4 separate regions of the Homo sapiens genome follow, and regions 2, 3 and 4 are each linked to region 1. Evidence: promoter capture Hi-C in 16 types of primary human blood cells and fetal thymus (Javierre and others, 2016). All regions are on one chromosome and are shown on one strand. The core of a region is centred on a gene start or on the middle of the fragment in contact, and the rest is flanking DNA. Distances in the headings are between cores, read along the strand shown. Region 1 holds the start of MED24 (mediator complex subunit 24). Region 2 overlaps WIPF2 (WAS/WASL interacting protein family member 2). Region 3 has its middle 11 kb from the start of WIPF2. Region 4 overlaps RAPGEFL1 (Rap guanine nucleotide exchange factor like 1).

Region 1 (2,539 bases), core at 15-2,514:
TAAAGGCCTCCATGTTTATTTATTTATGTATTTTGGTAGAGCTGAGAGTCTCATTATGTTGCCCAGGCTGGATTTGAACTCCCGAGCTCAAGTGATCCTCCTTTCTCAGCCTCCCGAGTAATTTACTCTTATTCCTGGTTGTAAATGTTAGGGATGACCAGTCCATAGCATGGGGAGGGATGAGGGCTATGCATAAGAAGGCTCAGACATTGGAGCCTCCAGAGGTGGGTAACATTTGCTTTCGGGTTTCTCACTGGGGGAAGGAAAGGCTATGGCCAAAGCCCTGGGCATAATTTATATATGGATCTTTGGGATAAGCAAGATTTAAACAACAACAACAACAACAACAACAAGAAACTTAAAAAAACAAGTTTTTAATTTACAGGAAAAAAATGGAAGGTAATAGAGGGTCCCCACATATTCTGCACCCAATTTCTCTTTTTATTAACATCTTAGCATTAGTATTATGCATTTGTAACAACTAATGAACTAATATTGATACATTATTATTAATTAAAGTCCACCCTTTATTTAGATTTCCTTAGTTTTTACCCAGTATTCTTTTTCTCTTCCATGATCGCATTCAGAAAACCACATTACATTTAGTCATCAGGTCTCCTTAGCCCTCTTAGTTGTGACAGTTTCTCAGAATTCCTTTGATTTTGATCACCTTCACCTTAGTTTCCTCTTTACTTTCCCTTGTATCCAAGCTGTATGGAGGGCCTGGAGATTCTGATAGGACTGTAAGATTCGGGGACGGTGATATGTGTGCAACTAAGGCACCTCGGTGTCGCTTTTAGAATATAGTTGTGGAAATGAGAATAGCTCTGGTAGCTCCAGGGGCTTAGGAGAACAGAAAGAGCCCAGGAAAGGAGAAAGACCTTATTGCTGAACGCCACACCCTTGCCCCCACGCCACACCCTTGCCGCACCTACTAACTAGGGGCTAACGAATGAAAGGGTGTCGGAATATGATGGAGAAGCCCGGTCGACAGTGACGTCGTGGGCGACGCCGGGTTGTGAGCGGCCTTTCGAGCTCCCTCGAGTCCCTGAGTCTCTGTAGTGCCTCAGCTCCTGGATGTCCTCCCTTAAAGGAGAAGAACAATGCGGGCCGACTAGACGAGTCCCTTAGTTTCCTCGCCGGCGCAGACAAATACGGTTTCAGTCCAAGGAACTACCATTCCCAGAAGACAGCGGGGCGTTCCTTGCTGCATTTCTATTGGTTGGCGTTTGTTACTCCCAGCCAATAGAAAGTGAGCTTCTTGACAAGTGCCAAAATGGCGATGCCTACCACCTAGAACTGGATTGTGCGGTAGGCTTAAATTTGGGGAGGTGGTGGATGAAAAGGAAATTGGGAGGTATAGTTACAGGGCTGGAGAAGGTGGAGGAAATGAGGGAGCAAATCTGGACTTGGAATGGTGGTGGCCAAGGGACGCTTTTAGAGCTAAGGGCGTAATTAGGCAACCAGGACTGCCTTAACTCCTTGATGCCCTGTTTAATCTATTAGTCCCTTTGATACTTCTTTATTCATTTATTTGAGAGACGGAGTTTTGCTCTTGTTGCCCAGGCTGGAGTGCAATGGTGCGATCTCGGCTCACCCCAACAACCTCCGCCTCCCGGGTTCAAGCGATTCTACTGCCTCAGCCTCCCGAGTAGCTGGGATTACAGGCATGCACCACCAAGCCCGGCTAATTTTGTATTTTTAGTGGAGACGAGGTTTCTCCATGTTGGTCAGGCTAGTCTCGAACTCCTGACCTCCGGTGATTCGCCCGCCTCTGCCTCCCGAAGTGCTGGGATTACAGGTGCGAGCCACTGCGCTCGGCCGATACTTTCTTAGTGCCCCAGTTTAAGGAAGGGCGGTTCAGGAGGAGAGAGTCTGACAGGATCTTACTTTATCCCTTTAGCTCTTTTTCTTTCAAATTCCTCTGTCTCGCTTAAATCTTCCCGCATCTTCTCCTTTCTATTTAATTCTGCCTTCCCCGGTTCTCCTTAGAACCTCATGTCCTTTTCTTTAGCTCCATTTCTTTCACCTCAAAGCTGGCCGCCACCGCTGCCACCTGCTCAGAGTGAAATAATGAAGGTGGTCAACCTGAAGCAAGCCATTTTGCAAGCCTGGAAGGAGCGCTGGAGTGACTACCAATGGGCAATCAACATGAAGAAATTCTTTCCTAAAGGAGCCACCTGGGATATTCTCAACCTGGCAGGTCTCAAGTGAACTGGGAAAGAAAGATGGGAGGGATAAACCCAGAGAAGTTGTAATCACTCAGTTGTGTTTTGCTATTCCTCTTGCAGATGCGTTACTAGAGCAGGCCATGATTGGACCATCCCCCAATCCTCTCATCTTGTCCTACCTGAAGTATGCCATTAGTTCCCAGGTAAGCTTCCCGCAAACCCCCACCAAGAAGTGAGAGTTCTGGGGGTAAAAAACTTGGAGTGCATTTGGGCCCCGGTGGTTCATGGCTGTAATCCCAGCATTGTGGGAGGCTGAGGCAGGCGGATTGCTTGAGCCCAGGAGTTCAAGACCAGCCTGCGTAACATGG
Region 2 (2,539 bases), core at 20-2,519, 200 kb before region 1:
AGGCATGGTGGCACATGGGATTACAATCCCAGCTACTAGGGAGGCTGAGGCAGGAGAATCGCTTGAACCTGGAAGGCGGAGGTTGTGGTGAGCCGAGATCGCGCCATTGTACTCCAGCCTGGGCAACAAGAGCGAAACTCCATCTCAAAAAAAAAAACCAAACAAACCAGGGAAAATAACAGTTGATTCAGAAACAAACATTTTCAACTAATTCCAGTCACCAGAGGTCCTGCCTTTTTGAGGAGGTTTCTAGTTTTTTTTTTTTTTGAGACAGAGTCTCTGTTGCCTAGGCTGGAGTACAGTAACATCATCTCGGCTCGCTGCAACCTCTTCCTCCCAGGTTCAAGCGATTCTCCTGCCTCAACCTCCCAAACAGCTGGGACTACAGGCGCATGCCACCACACCCAGCTAATTTCTGTATTTTTAGTAGAGACGGGGTTTCACCAAGTTAGCCAGGCTGGTCTCAAACTCCTGACCTCAAATGATCCTCACGCCTCGGCCACCCAAAGTGCTGGGATTACAGGGGTGAGCCACCATGCCCGGCCTGGGTTTCTAGTTCTATCAGCCATTGGCCATTGCCATAATTGAAAGGATCTCCTAGAATGACCCAAAAAAGACTCAGACAAGTCCTTTACTCTTTCCATGTCCATAGGTGATCCAATCTCCGTGCTACAAGGTGAATAATGACCTAAAAGGAACAGCCTTATGCCTGTCAGTGTGCTCCACTTATTTAAGCAAAGCAGGAATTCTCTAGCATAGCAATTTTTTTTAAGCAATATATTACACAGTTAAAGATGCCTTCCTAAAATAGACTCAATTCAAACTCTAATTGAAAAACAGATTCATCAGTGGCGCTTGCCTATAATTGCAGCTATTCAGGGGGCCAAGAAGGGAGGATCACTTGAGCCTTTGTTTTTGGATCCAGCCTAGGCAACACAGCAAGACCCCTTAAAAAATTAAGTACATAAAAAAAGTTAAATCAAAGAAACACCATCTATATCAAGTGACTGACTTTAGTGTTGACTACCAACAGTGGCTCTCAAGCTTTCTTCTGGCTCCACAGGGATTGTATGCATGACACACTCCTATCAATGACATTTATTACATAATGATGTATTATCCTTCCCATTTTATGGTGAGGACACTGAAGTCCCAGGAGTGGGAGTGCCTACATGTACATGAGAAAAACTGACTCATCAAAGGGCAACTGCCCAAGATCACTCAGGAATAAAGTGCAGAGTTAGGCCTCATATCCAGGTCTCCTGACTTCTTCCTTTTCACTAATCACTATGGAGAAAACAAACAAAAAACTCCCCTGGAAATTAGTGTGGTTTAGCAATTTTCTATTTTTCCCCAAATGAAATTTAACTCATTCCAAATTTCTTAGTTATAGAATACAAACAGTTCTCTATATGTTTCCAAGAACAGCCCCATTTAGGTGAATTCAAATTAAAACAACTTTCCTTTCCCTGAAAAACTCCCAAAAGAAGCTTTTTGTTTACATCAAATTAGGACTGAGACTTATAATCGCTAATCCAATGCAGAGGGTCTGCTTTGAGAACTACTTTGAGTTAAAAAAAAAAAAAAATGAACCAAAACAATTCATAACATTTGACAACAGAAAGACAAATTTCACTAACCAACTGTGATTAATCAAAGGACAAATTTGAGCCTTCTGGAAGCACTGTCTATTGCAATACTAAGAATCTAATAGGCTGGACGCAGTGGCTCACGCCTGTAATCCCAGCACTTTGGGAGGCCGAGGAGGGCGGATCACAAGGTCAGGAGATTGAGACCATCCTGGCTAACACAGTGAAACCCCGTCTCTACTAAGAAACATAAAAAATTAGCTGGGCGTGGTGGCGGGCGCCTGTAGTCCCAGCTACTCGGGAGGCTGAGGCAGGAGAATAGCATGAACCCAGGAGGCGGAGCTGGCAGTGAGCCGAGATTGCGCCACTGCACTCCAGCCTAGGTGACAAAGCGAGACTCAAAAAAAAAAAAAAAAAAAAAAAGAATCTAATAGCTAACGTGTACTGGCACCATCATAGCTCACTGTAACCTCAAACTCCTGGGCTCCAGTGATCCTTCTGCCTCAGCCTCCCGAGAAGATAGGACTACAAGTGAGCACCACCACGTGCAGCTAAGAATCTAATGGTCTTGAGGTTAAACCTGAGATTAAATTTAGAAAAGAACAAGAAGGTTCTCTACAGAATTTTAAGTATTTCCTTTCTGATCTATTAAATTAGAACTACAAACCTCACCATCTGTGCTCTTCAGAGACCTTGACTTTCAGAAACATCTTGAGGCTGCCTCAAGTTCGGAAACACAGTAATTCTCATTCCTTTCTTAAGCCCTTCCATCTTAAAAACCAAGATAAAGGCCGGGTGTGGTGGCTCACGCCTGGAATCCCAGCACTTTGGGAGGCCGAGGTGGGCGGATCACAAGGTCAGGAGATAGAGACCATCTTGTCCAACACGGTGAAACCCTGTCTCTACTAAAAAAAAAAAAAAAATACAAAAATACAAAAAATTAGCCGGGC
Region 3 (2,539 bases), core at 22-2,521, 150 kb before region 1:
CCCACCAGGGCTCAGGACATGTGAGCTAGCATCCTAGCTAGCTCCAGTGGCTTTTTTTTTTTTTTTTTTTTTTTTTTTTGAGACTGAGTCTCGCTTTGTCAGGCTGGAGTGCAGTGGCACGATCTCGGCCCACTGCCATCTCCGCCTCCCGAGTTCAAGCGATTCTTCTGCCTCAGCCTCCTGAGAAGCTGGGATTACAGGCACCAGCCACCATGCCCGACTAATTTTTGTATGCTTAGTAGAGATGGGGTTTTGCCACACTGGCCAGGCTGGTCTCAAACTCCTGACCTCAGGTGATCCGCCCGCCTCGGCCTCCCAAAGTGCTGGGATTACAGGCGTAAGCCACTGCACCTGGCCCTCCAGTGGCCTTCTGACTGCAGCAAGAGAGACCTCAAGTGAGACCAGAAGAACTATCCAGCTAAGCTCCCATCAGCCCGGAAGATCATGAGAAGTTATAAAATGGTTGCTGTTTTTAGGCTGGGTGCAGTGGCTCACACCTGTAATCCTAGCACTTTGGGACGCTGAGGCAGGTAGATCACCTGAGGTCAGGAGTTCAAAACCAGCCTGGGCAACATAGTGAAACCCTGTCTCTACTAAAAATACAAAAATTAGCTGGGCGTGGTGGCTCATGCCTGTAATCCCAACTATTTGGGAGACTGAGGCACAAGAATCACTTGAACCCAGGAGGCGGAGGTTGCAGTGAGCCAAGATCATGCCACCGCACTCCAGCCTGGGCGACAGAGCAAGACTCTGTCTCAAAAAAAAATAAAAAGTAAAATAAAATAAAACAAAGTTGTCATTTTTAAGCTACTAAATTTGGAACTGTTTGTTATGCAGCAGTAGATTCCCAAACACAAATATGACGATGAAATCTAAGCCCAGGATTATGGAAGGAAAAAAAAAGGGCTCAAGAGGGAGCTGGGGCACTCCACATACAAGGACCAGGCTGAGGGAGAGGCCAGTGAGGAAGACTGAGAAAGAGAAGACAGGGAAATCCTGAGAACGTAGCATCCTGGAAGCAGCGATAAGTGTTCCAGAAGGAAGAATGGTCAGAAATATCAAATGCCAGCAATAGGAAAATAAGTGTTCTTGGATTTGGTAACATGGGAGTCATCGGTGCTCTTGACCCAGGCAGATTATGTGAGTGATGACAGAGAAAGCCAGATGCACTGGGTTGAGAATCAAAGAGAAACACAGAACAGCAAAACCAAACAAACCAGTAATATATGCTGACCTGGATGAGCCTCACAGGCAGAGTGTTGTGGATGGGGAGTTGCTGAACACCACATCCAGTATGATAATATTTATATAAAATCTAAAAACATTCAATTGGCCAAGCGTGGTGGCTCACACCTGTAATTCCAGCACTTTGTGTGGCCGACCGAGGCAGGCAGATAGCTTGAGGCCAAGAGTTTGAGACGAGCCTGGGCAACACGATAAAAACCCCGTCTCTACTAAAAATCCAGAAAAATTAGCTGTGCTTGGTGGTGCGCGCCTGTGGTCCCAGCTACTCAGTAAGTTGAGGTGGGAGGATCACTTGAGTCCAGGATGCAGAGGCAGAGGCTGCAGTGAGCTGAGATCGTGACACCGCACTCCAGCCTGGGTGACACAGGAAGACTCTGTCTCAAAAAAAAAAAAAAAAGAAAGAAAAGAAAAGAGAGGCTGGGCGCAGTGGCTCACGCCTGTAGTCCCAGCAGTTTGGGAGGCCGAGGCGGGCGGATCACGAGGTCAGGAGATCGAGACCACAGTGAAACCCCATCTCTACTAAAAATACAAAAAATTAGCCGGGCGTCGTGGCGGGCCTCTGTAATCCCAGCTATTCAGGAGGCTGAGGCAGTATAATCACTTGAACCTGGGAAGCGGAGGTGGCAGTGAGCCAAGATCATGCCACTGCACTCCAGCCTGGGTGACAAGAGTGAGACTCCATCTCAAAAAAAAAAGAAAGAAAGAAGAAGAGAGGACACAGAGAGACACACAGAGGAGAATGCCTTGTAATGATGGAGGCAGAGACTGGTGTGATGAGTCTAGAAGCCAAGCAAATAAAATTCACATAACATAAAACTCACCATTGTAACCACTTTAAAGCATCCAAGTGAGTATATAGTATATTTACAATGTTGTACAGCCATCACCACTATCTAATTCCAAAACATTTTCATCACCCAAAAAGAAACTCCATACCCATTAGTAGCCTCTCCCCATTCTGCTCTCACCCCAGCCCATGGCAACCAGAAACTATCTACTTTCTGTCTCTATGGATTTGTCTATGCTGGACATTTCATATAAATGGAATCATACAATATGAGGCCTTTTGTGTCTGGTTTTTTAGCACAGTTTTTTCAAGGTTCATCCATGTTGTAGTATATATCAGTACTTCATTCCTTGCTATGGTTTGACTTTGTGTCCCCACCCAAATCTCATGTCAAATTGTAATTTCCAATGTTAGGAGGGACCTGGCAGGAGGTGACTGGATCATGGGAGCAGATTTCCCCCTTGCTGATTCCGTGATAATGAATGAGTTCTCATGAGATCTGGTTGT
Region 4 (2,539 bases), core at 17-2,516, 140 kb before region 1:
ATCAGATAGGGGTGCTGGGGGCTTTCTAATGGTGTGGTGGGGAGGGACCTGACTACTCCCCCTTTCCTTCAAGAAAAACAGGGGCGCAATCCTTCCAACCTCACCCTCCAGCATGGTAAGGAGGGTGGGGGGTCCCATACACTAAACACCTTGAAAGGAAAGCTTGAGGAAGGGGGTTTATGGGAACAGAGGGTTTCTGGGCTCTCAGTCCAAGAGCAGAAGAAAGAGCCAAACCCACTCACCGTCAGGTTCTCAAATTTGCGAAACAAGTTCTTGAATTTCCCTGGCAGCTTCTGCAGAGTTTGAAGGAAGGAGAAGGGATATCAGAGTGGAGCTCCTTGGGTTACATGGGAGCCTCGGATTAATTCTCCCTGTTGGAGGGCAAAAGGGCCTGCATGGCTTGTAGGGGGCTGGGAAGCTGGTGGGTGGGGAAATGAAGTCAGGCCTTGGCTAAGTCTAGAGGCTTGAAACAGCCCAGAGGAATTCATTATTCTGGGGAAGGCCAGGTCTGTCTTATGCAGGTGCTTTGTATAAAGATGCCCCCACTGAGTGTGGATGAAAATCAGCCCAACTCCCACAGCCAAGTCTGCGACCTGACCTGGCCAAGGGCTGCCTGCCGTGACTCAGGCGGGATCCGGGCTTTTCACTAATTTGCACAAAGACAGGGTCCATTAGCCAAGCTGTGCGCCCTGGGGTTGCGTATGCCAGAAGAGGGCGCCTCCCTCCAACTGGCGCAAAGACTCCCTCCAGGCCGGCGGCCGTCCCGGGAGGACGCACTTCGGGGAGCCCGGGATGCCCAGATTCCCAGGTAGGAACGGGAGGGGTCTCATCACCTCCCAGGTGAGTCGAAGGCGGCTGACAGCGGCGTTGTCCAGCCCCATGACCACGGCGTAGAAAGACAGCAGGTCCTGGTTCTGCTTGCAGCTGCGGGGGTGGGAGGCGGGGTCAGGGGCGGGCGGCGGCGCGGGCCTCCGGCCTCCGGCCCCCCATCCCGCCGACGGCCGCACTCACAGGGCCGCGATCTTGATGAACTTCTTGAGCAGCTGCGCGCGCTTGCCCGGGGCCTCGCAGAGCAGCACTTCGGTGGCCACCCAGTGCGTGACCTCGCTGCAGCGCTGCAGCAGCAGCTCCAAGTTGGCCGTCTCCCGGCGGCCGCGCTCCCCGTGGAACACGTAGTCCACGAACTCCAGCTGCACCCACGGCAGCGGAGGGGCGGCCAGGGCGCCAGGGGGTGAGGGGAGTGGGTGGGAAGATGGCAGTGCAAGGCGATGAGGAGCGAAAGGCAGGAGGGCGGGGGCGGAAGGGGTGGAAAATAGAAAAATAGAAAGGACAGGAGGCGGCAAAGATGCGGAAAAAGAAAACAACCAGCATTAATAATATTTCACCAGCTACTGAGCACTTACTAGGTGCCAGGCATTCGCTCACGGCTGACATCCTCAAGACAACCATCTGCTAGGCATTATTGTCTCTGCCTTATTTTATTTCTTTAATAGTGAATATTTTAAAAATAGAAATCCTGGGTCAGGTTCTGTGTAAACAGCACTTGGGCCCTGAGCCACTGTGCTCTGGGGTCTCTCTCTTTGCGATTTTTTTCAGATGGGGGAACAAAGGTTACGGCCATGCGTTGCCCAAGGGCTTGCTGCAAGTGAGCCTTGGAACCAGGACGTTGTGCTGCGAACACCGTCTCCCAATGGCACATTTCTCCCTCCAGCCCCCCAGCATAGCACCAGCCTCGGTCCCCACCTCATGCACACATCGGAACAGCTCCCAGTGGAAGGCAGTTAGGTGGTTGGCAACGTCCTCAGGCTCCACTCGGTGGATCTCTGTGTCTCCAGGGGAGACCTGGATCTCCTCGGGGAGGGGCACCTGGTGGCAGGCAGGGGCATAGGGGCTGGGCTCCTGGTGGCAGGGTGAGGGATTGCTCACAGCCCTCCTCAGCCCTCCATTCCAGTCAAGGCCTTGGGAAGTTCTTACCAGAGCCTCATAGCTGTCCCGAGTACAGGCAAACAGGTGGCTGTTGATGCCCAGTGCGGTGAAAACACAGTCCTCAGTGGGCTGGAGAAGGACCTTCTCTGCAGGAGAAAGAGCTGCTCATCCTCGGCCCCTGCCGCCTGCACCCTCACACATCCCACACTGACACTGTCCTATCCAAAAACTCCTCACCCCACACTGACACATTCTAGACTAATGGAACTCATCTTATCACTAGTTTATGCCATATTTATCTGGAATTTGTCAAATGATTATTTCTTTTGCATTTATAACTTTTTTTCTACTCCCTTTCTTTCACAGCTTTTCTCTTACTCTGTTGTCCTTGTGACACTGGGAAGGCTGAAATTTTTTCCTACTGTAGAGGAAAACAAAGCTTCAGTGACATTGCTGGCTTTCTGCCTTCCCACTCATCCTGTGTCTTTAGCCTGTGAAATGTGGCATCCTTACATACACAGGGAGGTTAAAGGATCAGAATACAATCCATAGGTGAGTGAGGGGCAGCACTCAGATCAGAACCTGAGTCCTAGACCAGTGCCTCCCAAACTTT

Evidence for each region. Contacts are between HindIII fragments. The CHiCAGO score rates a contact against its expected background, and 5 or more counts as called.
Region 2: a fragment that was not itself captured here is called in contact with the fragment with the promoter of MED24 in region 1 in 1 of 17 cell types (M1 macrophages); the score reaches 5.5 in M1 macrophages.
Region 3: a fragment that was not itself captured here is called in contact with the fragment with the promoter of MED24 in region 1 in 3 of 17 cell types (neutrophils, naive CD8 T cells and naive CD4 T cells); the score reaches 6.1 in neutrophils.
Region 4: a fragment that was not itself captured here is called in contact with the fragment with the promoter of MED24 in region 1 in 16 of 17 cell types (naive CD4 T cells, megakaryocytes, erythroblasts and 13 more); the score reaches 10.4 in naive CD4 T cells.

The regions. Positions count from the first base shown.
Region 1 is chr17:40,053,133-40,055,671 of GRCh38, reverse strand. It overlaps MED24 (mediator complex subunit 24), which reads left to right and starts at 1,264. Exons shown (of 26, transcript NM_014815.4): 1 at 1,264-1,311; 2 at 2,037-2,203; 3 at 2,292-2,374. The coding sequence starts at 2,074. RefSeq lists an enhancer at 1,005-1,064. The HindIII fragment of the contact is 3,100 bases long and covers 1-2,381 here.
Region 2 is chr17:40,250,388-40,252,926 of GRCh38, reverse strand. All of the region lies in intron 1 of WIPF2 (WAS/WASL interacting protein family member 2), which reads right to left. Among named protein-coding and RNA genes, the nearest start is that of WIPF2, 32 kb to the right of the region's middle. The HindIII fragment of the contact is 446 bases long and covers 1,047-1,492 here.
Region 3 is chr17:40,206,780-40,209,318 of GRCh38, reverse strand. No RefSeq gene overlaps it. Among named protein-coding and RNA genes, the nearest start is that of WIPF2, 11 kb to the left of the region's middle. The HindIII fragment of the contact is 6,806 bases long and covers 1-2,539 here.
Region 4 is chr17:40,189,967-40,192,505 of GRCh38, reverse strand. It overlaps RAPGEFL1 (Rap guanine nucleotide exchange factor like 1), which reads right to left. Exons shown (of 15, transcript NM_016339.6): 7 at 1,975-2,072; 8 at 1,744-1,866; 9 at 1,012-1,190; 10 at 834-924; 11 at 243-293. Among named protein-coding and RNA genes, the nearest start is that of MIR6867, 2.4 kb to the left of the region's middle. RefSeq lists an enhancer at 765-844 and a silencer at 965-1,024. The HindIII fragment of the contact is 2,203 bases long and covers 165-2,367 here.